2 separate regions of the Homo sapiens genome follow, and region 2 is linked to region 1. The links are contacts of gene promoters, found by promoter capture Hi-C in human tissues and cell types (Jung and others, 2019). All regions are on one chromosome and are shown on one strand. The core of a region is centred on a gene start or on the middle of the fragment in contact, and the rest is flanking DNA. Distances in the headings are between cores, read along the strand shown. Region 1 holds the start of DPT (dermatopontin). Region 2 has its middle 30 kb from the start of MIR557.

What was found. The method cuts DNA at HindIII sites, captures the fragments that hold promoters and counts their contacts. A contact is called where the count stands out against the background at its distance.
Region 2: a fragment that was not itself captured here is called in contact with the fragment with the promoter of DPT in region 1 in 1 of the 25 tissues and cell types used here (hippocampus).

The regions. Positions count from the first base shown.
Region 1 is chr1:168,727,429-168,731,491 of GRCh38, forward strand. DPT (dermatopontin) reads right to left here and starts at 1,778. Exons shown (of 4, transcript NM_001937.5): 1 at 1,442-1,778. The coding sequence starts at 1,746. The HindIII fragment of the contact is 7,078 bases long and covers 1-4,063 here.
Region 2 is chr1:168,343,466-168,347,117 of GRCh38, forward strand. No RefSeq gene overlaps it. Among named protein-coding and RNA genes, the nearest start is that of MIR557, 30 kb to the right of the region's middle. The HindIII fragment of the contact is 4,593 bases long and covers 1-3,652 here.

The sequences.
Region 1 (4,063 bases), core at 528-3,027:
TCTTTCCTGGCTCCCCCACCCATCGGTGTTTCTTCCTCTTGGATTTCCCATCATCACCTCTCTACTGGTTGTGTCCCCCAGGGTTCTATGCTTTTTCTTTTTTCTATTTTCTTTTTTTTTTTTTTTTGAGGCAGAGTCTTGCTCTGCCACCCAGGAGGGAATACAGTGGTGCGAGCATGGCTCACTGCAGCCTCGACTCCCTGGGCTCAAGTGATCCTCCTACCTTAGCCTCCTGAGTAGCTGGGACCACAGGCTGCATGCAACTACACCGGGCTAATTTTTTTTTTTCTGTAGAGATAGGGTCTGGCTGTGTTCCCTAGGCTGGTCTCGAACTCTTGATCTCAAGTGATCCTCCCTCCCCAGCCTCCCAAAGTGTTTGGGATTACAGGCGTGAGCCACCACACCTGGCCAGATTTTGTGCTTGACCCCTCCAATCCCCACTACACTAAGTACTTGTTGCCACACATCTGGGTTGCTCTACAGATAGCACATGCAGCAGCCCTCCAGGTGGGCTTCCTCCTCCCTGGACTGCCTCCTCCGTTCTCTCCTCCAAGCCTCCTAGAGTGCTGGCTCCATCTAGGCTGTTGTAAATAATCAGCCTAGCAGTCAGTGCCTACTAGGATGAGCTCCTGACCAAGCACCTGGGCTGAGACCCAGCTGAGACAATCACACCCCACAAAAAAGTACAAGCTCGAAAAAATTCCATGCCACTGCTTAAGGCAGAATGCAGTCAGGGGAAGACAGCACCTCTCTCCAAAACCCTTTAGTAAACTATTTTCCAGCAATAAAACCCACTTTAAATTCAGGCAGAGAGAAGGACCTCAGTACTCATAATTGAGAGAGCACATTTAATCAAGGCAGTAGACAGCTATTTAATTCCACTTTCTTTTGCCTAAATGTCCTTGTCCCCTCTTTTCCATTCACTTGCTCTAAATCAATAGTTCTCAAACCCTCCGTGCTGAGAGATCAATTGTTTATTTTTCTTGTTCCCAAACTACTGTGGGCCAGTACTTTTGTAAAATGGTAAAAATAAATTTCTAAAAAAGAAAAATGCCATTCCGATGGCACAGAAAGTTTTAATTTCTATAAAGTTTATTACTTTCAGTTTCTGTACATATCTTTTGGTAGTCTGGTAAGCAAGCTTCTCGCCGACCTACACCAGCCCCTGGCCCAAACTGAGAGTAGGTAGAACAGCTTCTGGAAGGAACAGAGCCACAGAGGAGTCTGTCTCCCACAGACACTCCCCATCCCAGGTTTTTGTCCTGTCATGTAGTCCGCTCAGCAGCAGCCCTGCTCCACCCAGAGCATGCAGTGGTGAGGTTTGGGGTGGGATTTGCCCAGGCTTTGGTTACTGATATTCCTTGAGAGTCTAGCAGCCCCCAGGAGGAGGGATATGCAGAGATGTTCCCAGCCCCAGTGCAGTGCAGGGACTGGCCCTTACCATTCCATGCCAGCCCTGTTGATCTCCTCCCACCAGCACTCCGTGGGTTCCCCGAGGCTCTGTGGCGTGGGCATGCAGGCGTAGTTCCATTGTCTGTCAGAACCTTCCTTCTTGCTGAAGATGCTCCTCACGGCCACTATCACCTGCCCCTGGGGACACTGGTAGCTGAAGCCTTGCCGGTTCAAATTCACCCACCCATCATCGCTGTAGTCATGATACTGCTGGTATGGGTATCCATAATCGCCATACTGGCCCCAGGCCATGGTGACTAGGGGCAGAAGTACCCAGAGAAGACTGAGGTCCATGCTGCCTGGGATTTTGGCAAACAATGTCACTCTAAGATTGCTGGTCTGACCGTTTTATATAGCTGCCGCTGACATGTGGCTTCCAGATGTGGGTGAGAAGGATCCAACTGCAGTGTGTCATTGCTTAAGCAAAACTTTTCCATGCTGAGATGTCAGCCATAAGGACATTCAGCTTGTTTTAAGGTGGAATTCTAGGAATATACCAGCAGCATGTAAGTCTAAGAAGCTCCCTGGAGAAAGAACAACTTTGTATCTAGATTATAAAAGCCAACTGCTGCTCTACCCTGTAGAAATATTCACTTGAAAAACACTGATTAGTAGCATATTTGTCCCTCACCTTTCAGCACCTCACCCCTTTCTGTCCTACCCTACCCGCTACTAGCAAACCCCTGTATTTGTTCTCCAAACTAGCCTTCCGGGCCACACAAATACCCAGACAGTGATTTCAAAATACCGAAATCATAGACTGAAGTAACAGAGCCATCTAGGATTTCTGTAAGGCTGAATGCCTGTTTTTTTTTTTAAGTTGTCAATCCAACACTTTTTAACCCTTGAGTATAAGCGCGGGTATACCAGTTTGCAGGGCTACTCTGAGAACTCATAAGTTGCATAAGGAAGTACTATGGGCCCATGGGGAGATAAGTTGGATATGATTTCTACACTTAAGCATTCTACCATGCTGCTGAAATTGGACCCAGTCAAGTCTAGAAAGTGTGCTCTGCTCTCAAAATGTAATGGGTTTAATCTAAATAAACCCCCTATTTATCCTTCAGTATTTTTGCCCTCACATTGAATTTTCTTTTCATTGAGTTATAATTTACATATAATTAATTCACCTTTTAAAATACATAATGTACAGTAACATAGCCAGCACCCTAATCAAGACTTAGAACAGTTCCATCAATCCAAAACATCCCCTTATATCCCTTTGCAGTCAAATCTTCCCAAACACCCAGCCATTGGTAACCACTGATTTACTTTCTGTCTCTATGGTTTTGCCTTTTCCAGAATGTCAAGTAAATGGAATCATACCACACGTAGCCTTTCATGTCCATCTTTCACTTAGCATAATGCTTTTAAGGTTCATCCATTTTAAAATTCAACATCTCATTGTATGTGTTAGTATTTTGTTTCTTGTTATTGTTGAGTAATATTCCATAGCATGGATGTACCACAGATTGTTTATACATTTACTAGTTGAAAGACATTTGGGTTGTTTCCAGTTTTTGAAAATTCATTACTTTTTATGTAATGAATTTTATATTCATTATATTTTATATAATGAATTACATAAATGTAATTATAAAGTTGATATAAACATCTATGTATAGGTTTTTGTGTGAACAAATTTTTATTTCATTTGGGTCAATACCTAGGAGTGAGATTGCTGGTTCACAAGGTAATGTATGTTTAACTTTAAAAGAAACTACTGAGGCCGGGTGTGGTGGCTCATGCTTGTAATCCCAGCACTTTAGGAGGCCGAGGCGGGCGGATCACGAGGTCAGGAGATCGAGACCATCCTGGCTAACATGGTGAAACCCCGCCTCTACTAAAAATACAAAAAATTAGCCAGGCTTAGTGGCGGGCGCCTGTAGTCCCAGCTACTCGGGAGGCTGAGACAGGAGAATGGCGTGAACCCGAGAAGCGGAGCTTGCAGTGAGCCGAGATTGTGCCACTGCACTCCAGCCTGGGCTACAGAGCGAGACTCCGTCTCAAAAAAACAAAAAAAAGAAAGCAAGAAACTACCTAGCTGATTTCCAAAGTGGTGATACCATTGCCCACCACTACCAGAAAATTGCCATTAAAAAATTTTAGCTATTCAAATAGGTTTGTAGTGATATTTCAGTGTGGTTGTGATTTTCATTTCTCTAATGATCCATGATTTTGAGCATCTTTTCATGTGCTCATTACCCATTCCATGCATCCGTTGATGATTTGGCTTTTCAAATTTTTTGAAACCTTTGGGCATCTCTTAAGCACATAGTATTTCCCATTTCTCATCAGTATTGTTCTTAAAGTTTCTTAGAATTGTGATCATAGACCAATTCTATCTACAGCCTCTGTGAAGTTTGTTAAAATGTAGACAGTGGCTCTTCTCCAGGCCTGCTAAATCATAACCTCACAAGGGGTGCTCAGGTATTTATATTTTAAAAAATTTTCCAGGTGATTCTTATTCACATCAATTGCTAAGAGTCACCTTCCTAAAGGAATGTGGAGCCAGAGAAAAATCACACTATTAATCCCACCATCTGCCTAGCCTGTGGCACATTTACCAGACGGTATTCAGTCTAGATCAAACACCAAGATAGTCTTGAAA
Region 2 (3,652 bases), core at 276-2,775, 380 kb before region 1:
GCCCCCCTGCTACCTGCTTGGCAGTGAAAATGTGAAGGTTTCATAATAAGTTGTTGGCTCTGGAGGAGATGGTTCTACATGTTTTACTGGTGTCCAAGGTCTACCGATGACTCTAGGGCCTGCAGTACTAATGAGCATCTCGTAGACAGTATATGGACCTCAGGCAGATGTTAAGATAGGGCCAGCCGAGGAGCTTTCTAATTGAGGAGGATTTACTCAGAAGGAAGAGTCCATCTGTGTTCTTTGAGCGTTTTGGAGAGTGGATGATCGAGCCCACTGTGTAACACAGCCCTGTTGTATTGCTGCCTCCTAGAGGAAGGACAAGGACAAGTGGGGGACAGAGGAGGCAGTGAAAACAGGAGTGGATCATTAGGGCCCAGAACACCTGAGTCCTGTCTCTCTAGGAAAAGCCAAGGTATCATGAGACCTCTGGTTGTTAGAATGTCGTAAGCCCACCCCACCATCCCTGCTCCCCACTCCCTCTCACATGCACTGCTGCTTCAAAAGGATTTTTTTTTGAGTGCTGCCAAAGTCCTTTAAGAAGCCAATCTATTTCATCTGAGACTGTTACGCTTGCAAAAGTGATCTTGCTGAAGATGAGCTTTTCAGCTTGCTTGTTAGCTACTTAGGTAGCTCTAGAGACCCCCAGGAGATGATACAAAAGGCCAAGGAGAGGAAGCCAGAATCAGAGCAAGCGTGAGAGCCCCCATGAGATACGTTGTCTTTTTCTGTCTGTCATCTAAGCAGCCCTGAATTCCAAGGGTAGTAGAGATTTGTAAGTATGTAGAGGATAAGAATCCTGATTTTGCCATCTGTGGGCTCTGAGTTGACATCCTCACGTTTCAGGGTCTTCATGTGACTCACAGTGAAACAGGGAACTTGGTCTATGTACTCAATGTCTTCTCATACCCCTCTTCTTCTCTTAGTAGCCTGGGTGATGGAATGAGACACATCTACTTGCTGTCCTGGGTCAATGGACTACTTACCCCTCATAAGTGCTTCTTAGGCTCAACTTTCTGGTATTTAAAAATTGCCTGACATCCCTCCTTCTTCAGGAAACCTTCTTTGACTAAAGAGTAAGATTCAGTTAATAATGAATCCCCTACATTTACGCACCAAAATTTATTTCTTTGCTTACAGTATAAATGATTTCCTGGTAAATCTGTGTGTTTATGCTAGGTTTGCTCATAGTTTGCATTTTCTCTATGCTTCCAAGTTTGCTGTGCTGTGTCCTAGATTTCTGTTTGCCAGAGGGCATGCAAATGAGGAGGTTGCCAGGATGAATGTTAAGTAAATCGATGTATAAAACATAATGTCCAAAAATATGGGCATGGTGCTTTATAGCTTACAGATATTTCACATATTTTACCGAATTTGACCTTTGCCCTATCACTGTTAGCCAAGATGATTATGCTCATGCTATAGATAGGAAACCGAGGCTGAGAAGTTAAGTAAGGGCACTGTCTTAGGGCAATCAGTTGGGAAGTGGCAGGAAGGTTTTTGTTACTGAAGTCCATGCTGTACTTGGGTATCTTAAACTGTTCCCAGTTTAACATAGTTAGGTGCTGGACACACATACCTGATGATAAGGGATGGAGTTGTTGTGACCTGAGTTAAGACAGATAAAAAACAAAATGAAAAGGTGCTGTATGTGGGTTAATTTGCCATAATGTTTTCCCTCTGTCTCACTGTCTCCTCTGTTTCCTGATTTCTTTTTTTAAGTGACAGAGTCTTGCCACCTTGCCCAGTCTGGAGTGAAGTGGCTATTCACAGGCATGATCACAGCACACTACAGCCTTAAAATCCTGGGCCCAAGGGACCCTCTTGCTTTAGCCTTCTGAGTAGCTGAGATTATAGGCTTGCACCTCTATGCCCAGCTTCTCTCTTGATTTTTAAAGGTAGTTTTATTCATTTTTTTCCCTGAGTATCAGTGTGGTTACTGTAGAAAAAGTAGAACTTTCTTTTTTTATTGAGACGGAGTCTAGCTCTGTCACCAGGCTGGAGTGCAATCTCGGCTCACTGCAACCTCCGCTTCCCGGGTTCAAGCGATTCTCCTGCCTCAGCCTCCTGAGTAGCTGGGATTACAGGCACACGCCACCATGCCCAGCTAATGTTTGTATTTTTAGTAGAGACAGGGTTTCACCATGTTGGCCAGGGTGGTCTCAATCTCCTGACATAGTGATCTGCCCACCTCAGCCTCCCAAAGTGCTGAGATTACAGGAGTGAGCCACTGCGCCAGGCCAGAATTTTCTTTATGAAAAGCCAGACAAATGCTCTCCAAATTCAAAGTAACCATGAAAGTGATGGTCAAAACTGGAAAAAAGAGAGAACTTGAGCCCAAATCAATGCTGTTTTTTTTTTTTTTTTTTTTTTTTTTATTCTTGAGGCTCTGAGCAGCTGGCCCCAAATAGCCAGATGCTGCTAAGGATCAAGGTCTTGCTTCCACTGCAGGTTTTTCTTGTTCTTGACTTTGTGGTAAAACAGAATGGGTGAGTGGAAAAGGCTCCATCATCTTGGGAGCTTGGCAGACCTAATTTGAAACATTGTCTCTGCATATCTGAGCTGAGATACTTGACAAAATTTTTAAAGCTTATTGAGCCTTAACTACCTCATGTGTAGGATGAGGCCCCATAATCCTTAGTTTGCAGTGCGGTTTTGAGATTAAGGCAGATAATACTTGTCAAATGCCTGGCACTTTGCAGGTAGCAGCTTTAAAACAGAAACAAGTGAACCTAAGCTCCTGTCTGATATCAAAGTAGTTGCTAGGATATTGTACAATTTCTTGGGCCTGAGACATTAAGTCAACTGACAAGTTTCAAGAAGGAAGAAATCTAGGTTGGGCATTGCTGTCTAAGTGTGATGCTTACAAGGTTGCCCACAAAGGCAGCCCTTTCTCTTGGATAGGGATCTGCTCTGGGCAATTTAACCTTCCAGGAGTCATGCAAAATGATTTTAAAATGACCATTTAAATTTTATCCCAAAGAGGTACAGCCATTATGGAAAATAGTATGGAAGTTCTTCAGAAAACCAAAAACAGAACTACCATATGATCCAGCCATCCCACTTCTGTGTACCTATCCAAAGGAACTGAAATCAGAATCCTGGAGAGATATTTGCACTCCCATGTTCACTGTGTTAATAGCATAACTTACATCCACCAAGATATGAATACTGCTTAAATGTCCACCAGTGGATGAATAGATAAAGAAAGTTTGGTATATACATAAGATGGAATATCAGTCAGCCTTAAAATAGAAGGAAACCTTGCCATATGCAACAACATGGATGGACCTGGAGGGCATTATGCTAAGTCAAATAAGACAGACACAGAAAGACAAATACTGTACGGACTCACTTATATGTGGAACCTACAATAGCCAAACTCATAGAAGCAGAGAGTAGAATGGTGGTTGCCAGGAGCTCAGGGGAAGGGGAAATGAGGAGGTGATGGTTGAAGGGTATAAGGTTTCAGTTATGCAAGATAAATAAGTTCTGGAGATGTACTACACAGTGTAGTGCCTATGGCTAACAATATTGTCTTCTATACATAAAATTTGCTAAGAGGATAGATGTTGTTAAGTGTTCTTGCCAAGCAAGAAATAATCACAACAGTAATGATATTAAAAGGGGCAGATGAAACTTAGAGAAGTGA